Regions from separate parts of the Homo sapiens genome. Here region 1 is linked to region 2. Evidence: promoter capture Hi-C in human tissues and cell types (Jung and others, 2019). All regions are on one chromosome and are shown on one strand. The core of a region is centred on a gene start or on the middle of the fragment in contact, and the rest is flanking DNA. Distances in the headings are between cores, read along the strand shown. Region 1 overlaps NOTCH2 (notch receptor 2). Region 2 holds the start of NOTCH2 (notch receptor 2).

The links. Contacts are between HindIII fragments. The study calls those that stand out against the background at their distance.
Region 1: a fragment that was not itself captured here is called in contact with the fragment with the promoter of NOTCH2 in region 2 in 5 of the 25 tissues and cell types used here (adrenal gland, dorsolateral prefrontal cortex, mesenchymal stem cells and 2 more).

The regions. Positions count from the first base shown.
Region 1 is chr1:119,950,643-119,957,057 of GRCh38, forward strand. It overlaps NOTCH2 (notch receptor 2), which reads right to left. Exons shown (of 34, transcript NM_024408.4): 13 at 4,398-4,590; 14 at 2,901-3,046; 15 at 82-195. Among named protein-coding and RNA genes, the nearest start is that of ADAM30, 57 kb to the left of the region's middle. The HindIII fragment of the contact is 5,940 bases long and covers 12-5,951 here.
Region 2 is chr1:120,065,956-120,072,628 of GRCh38, forward strand. It overlaps NOTCH2 (notch receptor 2), which reads right to left and starts at 3,707. Exons shown (of 34, transcript NM_024408.4): 1 at 3,379-3,707. The coding sequence starts at 3,451. LOC101929178 (a long non-coding RNA gene) reads left to right here and starts at 3,873. Exons shown (of 2, transcript XR_254374.4): 1 at 3,873-4,056. The HindIII fragment of the contact is 15,776 bases long and covers 2,128-6,673 here.

The DNA.
Region 1 (6,415 bases), core at 1,732-4,231, 120 kb before region 2:
GACCTGGGCACTGAGACTCAGGCACTGACAAAGCAAGGTCAAGTATCCCCTCTGGTCCCTGCTGGTACCTCCAGGACCCACCTGTGTATGGCAGCACACAGTGGCAAGTGTAGCCACTTATGTCATCAAAGCAGGTTCCTTGGTTCAGGCATGGATTTGAGGCACATTCATCAATATTCACCTGGCAGTTATAGCCTGTAGACAAAAGGAAAAAACCAAAAACAGTAAAACTTTCTGACAGCCTCATCAATTTCTAACCAATTCTCTTTAGGGGTAAAAACTGAACACATCAGAAATTGCATTCATTTCTTCAGGCCACTGAAATACCTGTTCATTCATTTCAGCCCCATGTCCCTGAAATACAGTCAGTAAATGACAGCAATTAGTTGAAAAGATGAATGGAAAAACAGTCTATTCTAATGATCTGAAAGCCTAATGCCCCTCCAACTACAAATAACTTCTCAATAATGAAGTTCTTGGTTCAAAAGCTTGTTGCAGGATCTATTTATTATTTATTTATTTTTGAGACAGGGGGTCTCACTCTTGTCATTCAGGCTGGAGTGCAGTTGTGTAATCATGGCTCACTGCAGCCTCGACCTCTCGGGCTCAGCAATCCTCCCACCTCAGCCTCCTGAGTAGCTAGAACCACAGGTGCATGCCATCATGCCCACTTGATTTTTTAAATTTCTTGTAGAGATGAGGTCTCGTTATGTTGCCTAGGCTGGTCTCCAATTTCTGTGGCCAAGTGATCCTCCCACCTTACCCTCCCAAAATGCTGGGATTACAGGTGTGAGCCATCGCACCCAGCCAATAGCTTGTTGCATGATAAACATAAGCTCTTTGTATATAACATTTCTGGTCAGGAAAAGGGATGATGTTTTTGAATACATTAATCAAAGCCTCTGGTTTATGCCCATTTTTTCATAGGCACCATGTCTACCACCCATGTGGTACTTCCTGAAGTTACAAAGCTGTTTTCTCCTGATTCAAGGCATGAAACCTTCTCCCACTAAGAAAAGGATAAAAGGAATAAAAAATTAGTGGAGATAGCACAGTACCCAAATACTGCACACCTTTGCATCTCCAATAGGGCCTGGCACAGAGCCTTAAAGTAGAGAAACTATGGCACTGTGGAAAAGAAAACATGGTCTAGGAATGCAGAGGTATGGGTTCAAGGAGTATTCTGCTGCCCACTGGGCATATAATTTGGGATTTTACCTTTTGAATTTTATTTTGTTCACTGATAAGCAAGTCTCAGAAGATAAAGAAATAAAAGTGTTTTGAAATCTACAAGTTTCTTTGCCAATGTAATACAATATATCAGAAAATTAATGGCTGAAATACAGTCTCAGAAATGTTTCAAGTAATCAAATAAAGTGGCTCTAAAACATGCTGATGTATCACAATAGCATAGCACAATATTTGAGTGAGGAAATCAATGAATAAATAGACAGATGAGTGCAAATATAATGATTTACCCACACGGCTCTCTTTTGTGAGTTTCCAAGAGAAAACTGATGGTAGAAATATAACAGTGATAACTCAGAAGCAGATTTTACACAATTCCCATGACTATCCATTTGTTGGGTAGGCCAGCAGTCCCTCAGCATTTTTGGCACCAGGGATTGGTTTCGTGGAAGACAATTTTTCCATGATCCGGGGTTGGGGGGATGATTTTAGGATGATGATTCAAGCACATCCCATTTATTGTGCACTTTACTTTTATTATTATAATATTACACTGTAATATACAATGAAGTAGTTTTACAACTTACTATAATGTAGAATTGGTGGGAGCCCTGAGCTTGTTTTCCTGCCACTAGACAGTCCCATCTGGAGGTGATGGGAGACAGTGACAGATCATCAGGCACTAGATTCTTATAAGGAGCGCACAATCTACATCCTTCACATGTGGAGTTCACAATAGGGTTCGCAGTCCTATGAGAATCTAAGGCCACCACTGATCTGACAGAGACAGAGCTCAGGCGGTAATGTGAGTGACGGGGAGTGGCTATAAATACAGATGAAGCTTTGCTCCCTCACTGGCTGCTCACCTCCTGCTGTGTGGCCTGGTTCCTAACAGGCCACACACAGGTACTGGTCTGTAGCCTGAGGGTTGAGGACCTCCGGTGTAGACCAAAGATGACTAAATAACTAAGAATATCTCAATGTGTTAAAAAGTTTGTTGAAAGAGTTCTGAACATGTGGATTCTTCCTTGATATTACTACTATCTTAATTATAGTAAGCATAATATTTTCATTCTACTTCCATATATCTATTTGAACTATCATAGACTCAAACCTGGACCAGGAAGCTTATAATTAGACACTTGGCCAATGCTGTAAAACTGGAGTCTTAACTGCTCATCTTAAATATTACCATTTCAGGCTGGGTGCGGTGGCTCACGCCTGTAATCCCAGCACTTTGAGAGGCCGAGGTGGGCAGATCACCTGAGGTCAGGAGTTCATGACCAGCCTAACCAACATGGAGAAACCCCGTCTCTACTAAAAATACAAAATTAGCCGGGTGTGGTGGCATATGCCTGTAATCCCAACTACTAGGGAGGCTGAGGCAGGAGAATGGCTTGAACCCGGGAGGTAGAGCTTGCAGTGAGCCAAGATCACGCACCATTGCACTCCAGCCTGGGCAACAAGAGCAAAACTCTGTGTCAAAAAAAAAAAAAATTACTATTTCAATAGGTCACCTCTCTGCTAGGCTGAAGGTAGAAATTGTATCTATTCATGTTTTTATTCCCCAAGTGCCTTACAAGTCTAATTGCTCAATATGTTTGTTACACGAATGAATGAAAAAGAGAAAAGGAAACTAAGAAGTGAGTCAAGCAGTATGCAACAACAAGAAGACAAAGAGCAGACGCAGAAAGATGTACTTTTGTTTTCACCTTTAAAGCCCTTCTTGCAAGTACACCTGTATCCATTCACCAGATTGTCACAAGTTCCTCCATTCTGGCATGGATTCGAAAGGCATTCATTTTTGTCCACTTCACAGTTGATGCCAACCCAGCCTGCATCACAGAGACACTTATATCTGAAAGAAGACAAAACTTTTTACTATAGGAGGTATAAACGTATGATTGAGTCATAGAGTGAAATACAGGACTTGGTGAAGAAATGGGGTAAACTGATCTCATTTCTACTTTCATGGAACTATCCTTGCATCACCTTGCACATGGTGTGTACCATGTGGCCCTATCAGGTGTATCCAGTAAAGAAACCTTCTTGGTGCTTTCCTGGCTCACTAAGTTAGTGAAATTATAATGAAATTTCTTATGTAAACAATGGTTTCTACAATATATTGGGCCACTCTGAAGGAAACAATATCATGGATAAATCTGCACAATGTATGTTATTATACATAAAACTAAAGTAAAGCAAACATTAAGATCATTAGTTTTTGGTGCCAAATAGATACCTAGGTCACTGTCAGGGACCCTGAGCCACTCTAAGATGCTCCTGGGATATTTCATATCTAAGTCATGCTTTGTCTTGACCTAACACTTGGCTTCAGAAAGCACCTAGGGTATTCTGCAGGAAAAGGCACAGGAATGAAGGTATTTGAATTGTAAATATAATCTCCAATTTGAACATCACTAACACTTAGAATGTGATATCAGGAAATGATAGCTTTCTTATCGGGAGAATTTTAAGAAAATGAGAGATGGATAAGGGTGCCTTGAAGGCTGCTATACTCTGAAACACCAATACTGAGTTAATTAATTTTTAAATAACTTTATTTACTATTTGCCACTAAACACTCTTTATCCTTTCATCTTTCAAAGTTTGGCAAAGGAAAATGTCCAAAGCCATATCCTATGGCAAATGCAGCAAGAGTATAAGAGCGTCTCGTGAGACCTAAGGTCACTCTATGATTCTAGAAAATCACTAACACATCACACAAGTCTGTGGGGCTTAAAAATTGCAAATGTTTTATCAGGGACATTTCTAAAGTTGGCTGAAGCGGCCCTACTTCAGAGCACACACTGGCACTGTGACAGAACAGAGCTGAGCTATGTTTAAGCAGGGGAAAAAAAATCAAAAGCTAGAACATTCTTCAGAAATCATTCCAGTAATACATACTAAAAACATAACTGCCAAAGATTCATACAATGAGTATGGGTTCCTCCCATGAGGTCCTTGCTAATGACCCATATAAGGGAGACATTCCTCCTTATGTTCCATCTAGGTCCTCACTTATGGAAGGGAGGGGCCAGCTTCCATGGATTAAATGGTAATTCAGAAGGCTTTGATGCAGACTACCAAATCTTCAGCAAAGTTTCAGCTCAAAGCCCCATTTGACAACTTCAGGCTGTCACCAGTACTACAAGCCAACTGGCTTAACACAGGTCAATAAGAAACTATCACATGGGGCAGCTACTCACCCACTGAGACCTCCAGTACAGTTTCCATGGATGCAGGGATTGCTCAGGCATTCGTTCACCTGTGAGTAGCAGCTGGGGTGATGGGGTCCCTCGGGGCATATACAGCGGAAACCATTCACACCGTTGATACATGTTGCACCCTTGCGACAGGGATTGGAGGCACACTCATCAATGTCAATGTTACATCTCTGCCCTGTGGAGAAGGGGGACAGTGTTAGTCACATCCTAAATGCTTAGGAAATAGACCCAGAACTATAAGACACGTTATGTTGACATCCTTCATCTGCTCAGGCCATAAGGTGCCTTGAGGCACCAAATGTCAAGATGTAAGGAATTAGACACCCAATAACACTTAATGCCATGCAAAGGAGCAAAGAGCATTGACTTTTGATAATCAAGGAAAGTTAACAAAAGGCTGGAAAAGTGTTATAGCAATTTGGCATTTTCTTTCAACTCAGAAATGGGGAAACTTCACAAGGTTCTAAGAAGAGAATGTCAAATGTTACCAAAGAAGGCTTCTCTTCTTAATGCTGCCCTGAGTACAACTCAAAGAAGCATTCATTAACATGCTTTGTGCCGGTTTAGCACAAATTCATTTTCTCAGCCTCTTACATTTCTATTTATGGTAAATCCAAATTAACTGGAATGCTTAATGAATGGGCTAGTAACTTAATTCAATAATTAAATTGATTGTAAAGAAAGGTTATTTTGTTTTCATTCTTAGAGTCTATTAATCCATTTTTTTTGACCTCAGGAAGTAGAGTCTCAAAGTATAATTTTGTTGTCTTCTGATATTAGAGAAAATAATGCAGTCTGTCACTGCAGACCTATGGTTCTTAAACTTTAATGTGCAAAATCATCACTTTAAGTTGTTATTTTAAGTGGAGATTCCTAGGCCCTATCACCATAGATTGTGATGAATAGAATCTAGCAAACCATATTTTTTTAAATGTAGGTGGTGTAAAAACTAGATTTTGAGAAATTCTGTTCTAGACAATTATTACTTATCATCATCATACAATGTGGATACTGGGAGTAAGTGAAATTGAAGTGAATATGTTGCTCCTCCAAGACATAGCCAAGATTGCTCTTTAAAAAGATGTCTGCTATAACCTTGATATTTCTTAGGCTGAATAAAGTAATACGGGTCAGTTATACAAGTGTTTCCATTTGTTACATTTTGAGTAACTGAGATTTAACTATATATTCCAAAATGATATGAAATGTTAAAATTACCTATAATTCTATAAATGAGTGGCATCAAGCAACTGCTATGAATTTATATATTTCAAAGAACACAATGTTCTGATTCTGATTTTGAAAACATGCATTTTTCTCATTTAAGAAAGAGCAATCCTGTATTTAGAATAGGACATTCCAAATGAAACAGATACCCACTCCTATGAAGTATGAGTATTCACATTTTTTCACCCTCCATTGCTCTCTAAACCATCATTGGTGGTTCTTGTGGTAAAAACCCATAATCTGGAAGTGGCTGCTGTTTTCCTCTTAAGTGTTTTATTAATAGCTTATTTTTAAATACTATTTCCTTGGCCTCAACCACTGATTCTTTGAGCTGTTTGTCAGTGGCACCAAAATATGAACCAGAGCTCTTCAACCACACAGTTAGCCTCGGCCCGTAATATAGTGAAGGATAACAGGAAAAAGGTTTCTTCATTTTTGGTCTTTTCTTGGAAGCGTCTCCTCAGAAGCCACTCCTCCCAAGTTTTCTTTATTTGCTTTTAAATTTATTCTTTGCAGAATAAATTTTCAAGCCATCTTTATCTGAAAGCATTAAATGCAGTCCACTATGTTGATTGACAGCTGTTCCATCAGGAAGGTCCTACCCTCAAGGAGTTTCCACTGAGCATGAGGAAAGTCCAGTGGAAGGCCAAGAAATTTTTTGGGCTAGGTAACTAAAATGAGAAGTTACCCAGTGTTTCTTCTGACTTAGGCACTCAATAAATTGGTGTTTAATAAATGAAAACATGGTATAGTCCACACTTCAGAGTCTGGCA
Region 2 (6,673 bases), core at 2,457-4,956:
AATCATTGCAGACGTATATAGATAAAGGGTCAAAAAACAACATGTATGAATGACATTTAAGGAAAAAGAGATAACAGAAGAAAAGGGAAAAGGAGAGGTGGAGAATTTATTATATCATCTAAATATATGAAGCCCTTCTAAAGGGTCAATGCAGACATATTGCACCCAGATAAATAGAAGAAATGACATTATATTCTATATCTCTTACGTTAGCAATTTTTAAATTCCTTGAGTCAGAAGCGTTAAACACTGGAATGACTAAGGTTACATTTGTTATGGAAATTTCTTAAATTTAGAAAGACCTCATACACACACCTGAAGGTAAAAAAAAATGTACTTAATCAGTGGGTTGCAACCAAGTTACTTGTCAGAATCACCTGTAAACCTTGAAAAAATATGGATTCTCAAACTTACCTTATCAGAATCCCTGGGTGCTGAGTCCAAGATCCACCCCAACAGATTTTGATGTAGCCAGGACACAGAGTTTTTTCTACCATAATGGGAGAGGTAGGGAGGAGGATCACTAGGAATGGCAACACAGAGTGGGAACTAGATCAATGCAAATTTTGTGGGCAAAATAGAATTTCTGTGGGTGTGATATTTTTAAGATGTATTGTAAGGCTGCTCTGAACCATCCAAGCATATCCCACTGAATTTAAACATTCTCTAAAGGTCCTGAAGTCAGCAACTACAATCCAGGTGAACCAAAAGTTGCTCCTCTATGTCATAGAAGCCTACAGGAGAGGCAGTAGGGTGGGAATGGAGCAGAGAGATCCCAAGAAGTTATGGGTAAATATTTTTTAAATCTAAACATTCAGAAAAATAAGAGAGACTAGGAATCACTCTCCTCCTCCTCTCCACCACACCAAAAAAAAAGGAATAATAAGAAAGTGAAAGGAAAAATAGTTTTAGGTTAAATTTCATCACCATCTGAAAGAAAATTACTCCGATTTTGTTTAAGCAAGAGAAGAATTCAGCTGAGAAATTATCTAGCAGGCAGCAAAATCAGGGAGTCACTTCCCATTGCAAAGCAAAAGAAAACAAGGAGCAAGAGGATGGTCCTGGATAGCTGTTTAGACAATCAGACATACTGCTAACATCTCCTTGCCTTAGAAACTCCGTGATGTTTAAATTAACAATTGGCCACAAGCCAAACACAGGAACACTCAAAAGTTTAGAAGGGTGTGCTGCAACTGGTACCTTAGCAAAACACAATAATAAATTAAGAGGATTCAAGAAGCCTTCACTGTAGACTCTAAGAAGATTTAAGATTTGTACCGAGAAACGGCTTCTAAATCTCTTCTACTGCATTAGTTTAGCATCTAAAGAACACCTGTCTAAAAATCAAAATATCTAAATCCTATCCTTTGAGTCAACTTGACTAACACTCAACTTGACTACCTAAAAGCTAGCTAATAATCGCAGCACCTCAGCAGAGCAGAGGTGGAGGGCATAGTTTTATGCACTGAGATCCTATAATAAAAGAAGCCCTATGTGTCAGAGTAATCCCATTTCTGATATCATATTATTTAATACTTAATTTTTCAAATCACTTTACAATTATATTTATTATTCCCTACAATTCTCTAAAGCAGGTTATTCCTTTAGTCCTGCTTCATAGGTGAGGAGACTACATATCATGAAGATTAAGTTATTTACCAAAACAAGTTAATGATAGACCAAGGATTATTACCCTCAGACTGTCTCATTGATCATACTCCTCTCTATCCTAAAGCTACACTTAAAGCTTTCACTCAAAGAAAAAGGAAAAGCAAAAACACCATCATATATGCTCTTTATTAAATGCTTCAGAAACAACGGCTCTGCTTCATCACTACAAAGCCTCCTGGTCCACTTCTGAAATTCTTAGTGACCTAGACGTGTACGAAATTTGAACTTTCCAAGAAGTATCTAGTTGGTGCTGAACAACCCAGTACTATTTTCGGGTGATAAATAACCTTGTTCTCTTTTTAAACATCTGCGATTGACATGTCGACTGACTGTTAACAATGAACAAAGACCATATTTTTCTGAAGCTCATCATCTTCCTAACCTTTTCTTTGAAAACAGATGTAGTTCATGTACTAGTTTTTTGGTGAAGGTAAAAATCTTTATTCAGATTAGGCTCAGAAAAAGAAGGGGCTGCTTTCCGTTCAACAAATATGCACAAGACAGCATCCCACTGGGAGCATCAATCTCAGAAGCAGTAAAACACAGCCTCGGCCCTGAAAGGACTTTCTGAACACCTTTGGAGTGTCATCCGTTTAATATACATTATTTTAATTAATCCTATTAGCTGGATAATTTCTTTCCCATTTTATTGGTGAGTTCATATAGCAGAGCTGGATTTGAATCCAGGATTACAGAGCAGGGCTCCAAAGCCCAAGTTATTTCCACTAAAGGGTCTGAAGAAATGTAGAATCTAAAAGTGTGGGTGGGATGGGGAAGATATGATTTGATTCCCTTTCCTTGGTCCAACCGTGTTAGAAACATCCAACCATAAAGAAGCTTTCTAAGGAAGCCCTTTGAATTAACGTATCCACTTTTTCTCACCCGCCCGTGCCCCACCCCCAGCCATGCCAAAGGAGCAGCAAATGCTGCTGCCAGGTTGGAGGAATTGGTGATCGTCACACCACATTCCTGGGTCTGGACACAGCCTGAAACAGCAGCAGAGCTCCGCGCCTCGGAAAGAATAACAGCAGTTGAGATTTTTAAATCATGTGCCTCAGCATGCAGCCACACCAGTTGCCCTACTTCTCCTGCCTCCACCTTTCAAAGACGCGAGCAGCACACACGGCTCCCCCGGACTTTCGGTGGGGTTGGAGTGTCAAAACTCAGGCGCGCCGCAAAACCCCGTCCCCATCCAAACCAAGCCCACACACCCGGCCCATGTGCCGCCCCCTGGCAAAGGCGAGGCTGGCTGCGACGGTGCAGGCCGTTTGGCTTGGCGGCCCTGCCCCCGCTCTCCACGCCAGAATCTGGCATTCCTTCGCTCAGCCCCTCCGAGGCCCGCCGTCGGCTCTCGCTCGACCCCAAGAAACGCGGAACCTGAAGGGCAAAACTGCCCACCTCCCTGCACCCTGGCACTACGAAAAAGGAGTTTCTGAGACTTGCTGCCGGCCTCCCTCCTGCCGAGGAGGCGTGTAAGGGGTCCCGGGCCGCGGGGAGCAGAGGCGGCGGGGAACCCCGGCGGTTGGCGGGGCACCACGGGAGGGGCCCCCGGCGATGTCCAAACTCTTGGGAACCCAGCGAGTGGCCTCGCTCCGCGCCGGCGGCCGAGCCTGGCCTTCCCACACAGAGAAGGACCGAGGGGGAGAAGGGTCGCCCCAGGTGGCAGCCCCGGGCGCCGCGGACAGCGCCCCTCAGCCCGATACTCACCATGCGCGGGGGCCGCGCAGCACAGCCAGAGCGCCAGCAGCGCCCACAGCAGAGCGGGGCGCAGGGCGGGCATCTTCTCGGTCGCCTCCTCCTCCGCCGCCGCCGCCGCCGCCTGGGCAGATCCACATGGGGAGGGGGTCCCGATAGAGGAGCCCCACTCTCTCCTCCCCTCCTCCTGCTTCAAAGGCTCAGGCCCTGGCGCTACGCTCCGAAGCCCAGGCGCAAATGCCTCGACTCCCCGCGCCCCGAGTCCGCCGCTCCTCGGCCGCCGCCTCAGCCGCCGCCCGAAGTTTGGCTGAAACTTTCTCGGGTGTGCAACGAAGCAGCCTCGTGTGTCCTTCCGCCTCAGCCGCCTCCTCCCACCGCAAGCCCCGCCCCACTGTCGCCGCGGCCTCGGCCCCGCCGCCTTGGGCACCCAGGGGTTTCCCGCAGGAAGAAGCGCCGGCCCGAGCTCCGCGCGGAGGGATCTACTACGAGTCACTGGCCCCGTCCGCATCCTTCTCCAGCGGCCCCGGGGGCCGCCGCGCCTTAACTCGATCAGGGCTGCAGCGGCTCGCTGGCTTGACCAGTGCAGAAGGGGCGTGGGGGTGAGGGGGGTGGGGTAGGACTCTGAACTTCAAGCACTGGAGTTTGCCGGGATCGTGAACTTGCAGGGAGAGGCGGTCCTCATCCAGTGAGGTCTGTATCGCCACCTACACCCACACATCCACACACTGCTTTGCTAGCTAGAGGAATGCTCTGGAGTAGGACCAGTGCTGTCAAAGAAGGAAAGTGGGCCAAGGCGCCAAAGTCCATTAAAAAGGAATAGAGCCATCACGGAGTGGTGCTGCCCCATTCATTCATTCATTTGTTCATCCGTGTAGCGAATATTTCTTAAGTGCCTTACTTTGCGTAGCTGTGTGCTTGGCAGTGGGATGATACCAAAGATGCACAAGCAACTTTGAGTACCAAGACTTTGCCGCTGTGGGCTGGGGGATTCAGGGAAGGCTTTCCCAGAGGAGCTGGGATGAAAGCAGGATCTTGAAAGGTCAGTAAAATTTGTATAAGACAAGGAGACCAGCTAAGCTAAGGATATTCGTTGTAACACTGTAATAGCAAAACCTTGAAAACAACATAAATGCCCACCCTTAGAGGAATGGATGAATAATGTATGGTATATTTATAAAATGAAATGCAACACAGTAATTGAAAAGACTATAGCTATTTATGTCAATAGGGATAAATCTTAAAAACTAAATGATAGTGAAAAAACTAATCACAGAGGGAGACAAAGTATACCATTTATGTATATTTTTTTCAAGACAATACTACACATTATCTGTGGATGCATATATATAGATATAGATATTAAGAGACTATAACCAGAATAGTAGTTACTTCCAGGGCAGGAGAGTAGGGGGTGTGATCAAACCTGGGTACAAGTGGGCTTCTAAGAAAAGAGCTAAAAGTAAGAACAGCAACAATAGTTGTATGGACATATCATTCCAGGAAAGAGCCCTCGTGAAAGCAAAGGTACAGTCAAAAGAGTAAGTAAATGAGTTCTGTCTCTGTTAGCAGTGAGAGGAGTCAAGGACGGAAAGGGGGTTGGGACCAAATTATGCAGCCTTGAATGGCAAGCTGAAAGGGTGGGGAGGCAGCTACCTCTTAGGTCACATAAAACTATTGAAAGTTTTTGAACAGAGTTGAGATTGATGGAAAGGAAGATTGCTCTGATAATTCTGTAGAAAATTGATTGTTGGGGGAGCAAGAGGTGAACTGGAGCCCCAGGACCAGTCAAGAGTTGGTGAACAGTCCAGGCACAAATTTAAGAAGACCTGAACTAATAAGGTAGATTTCAGAAGGAATGAATCCGAGACAATGTTAAAGAAACAGAAAAAAAAAATGGAGGTGTGACTAATTGGATGTGGGAGTTTACAATCCTGTTGGGATGGGAAATCCTACCCATAGAACCTCTCCCTGACTCCTATAGGATAAAATTCAAACTTCTAAACATGGTACATACAAGGCCTTTTCGTCATTGGGCCCCATCTCCTGTCCTCCCTGCCCCTGTTGTGAACTTCACACAATAACAGTATTGACTAACTTGAGATTCCCCCAAACATATCTTGCTGTTTCTGTCCCTGTATCTTTTGTTCCTTTGGCTTGGAATGACTCCTGTAGTCCCCTTCCCTCCTCCTCTTAATGAACTTCTAATCATAATTCATCCTTCAGTCCAAAGAAGGCTTTGCCGACACCGCAATAAATTCCTCCCCCTAACAGACAGTCCCTCCACTGTCTTCCACTGCCGCTTCTTTATCTTAACACCGATACTTATTTTTCACACAGGACTCTTTGTATTTCTGTGTTCTCAACTAAGTTTTGAGGTCCTCATGGGCAAAGACCACAGCCTATTAATCCCCAGTGTCTATCACATAATAGATGTTGAACTAGAATGTGAAACAACACTAAGCAAGTACAAGTCAGTATGGGCATAGACCTATGAAGTTCCAAAACTGCATGTTAACAAGCACTTTAGGTAAGCAAGTACCATTAGTGAAAGTAGTCACATTGAAATACTGGAAACCCTTTTCAAAAATAATGTAGTCAAAATATTTTTGGAATTTGTCTTGTGCAAGTATGTTCAGAGAAAGATAACATTATTTTTCAGTTGTTTACCCACAGTGTTACCAGTTCGATCTTCCTCTTTACTCACTAAAGATAATTCATAGTGACTTGGCTGCATACAAATTTTAAAAATCACCTGCAAAGATAAGTTTTGTCACTATTAAAATATATTCAGAAGAATATAAGATAGTTATCCCCAAAGAGCAACTCTAGAAGCGACTGTAGCTATGACAACATTATTAAAATAAATGTGCAGGCCAGGCGTGGCGGCTTATGTCATAATCCCAGCACTTTGGGAAGCTGAGGTGGGCAGATCACCTGAGGTCAGGAGTTTGAGACCAGCCTGGCCAACATGTTGAAAACCCGTCTCTACTAAAAATACCAAAAATTAGCCGGGCATGGTGGCGAGCACCTGTAATCCCAGCTACTCAGGAGACTGAGGCAGTAGAATCACTTGAACCCAGGAGGCAGAGATTGCAGTGAGCCAAGATCGTGCCACTGTACTCCAGCCTGGACAACAAGAGTGAAACTCCGTCTCAAAAAAAAAAAAAAAAAAAAAATAGGTATGCAGTTTCTCAAAGTAACCGTTTTAAAGAAAGCAGCTATTATGTTCACATATAACTTTTGTTGAATATGTTACAATATGAAAACTTACTGCATACATTCTGGTAAGGACAAGAGAAGTAAAGAG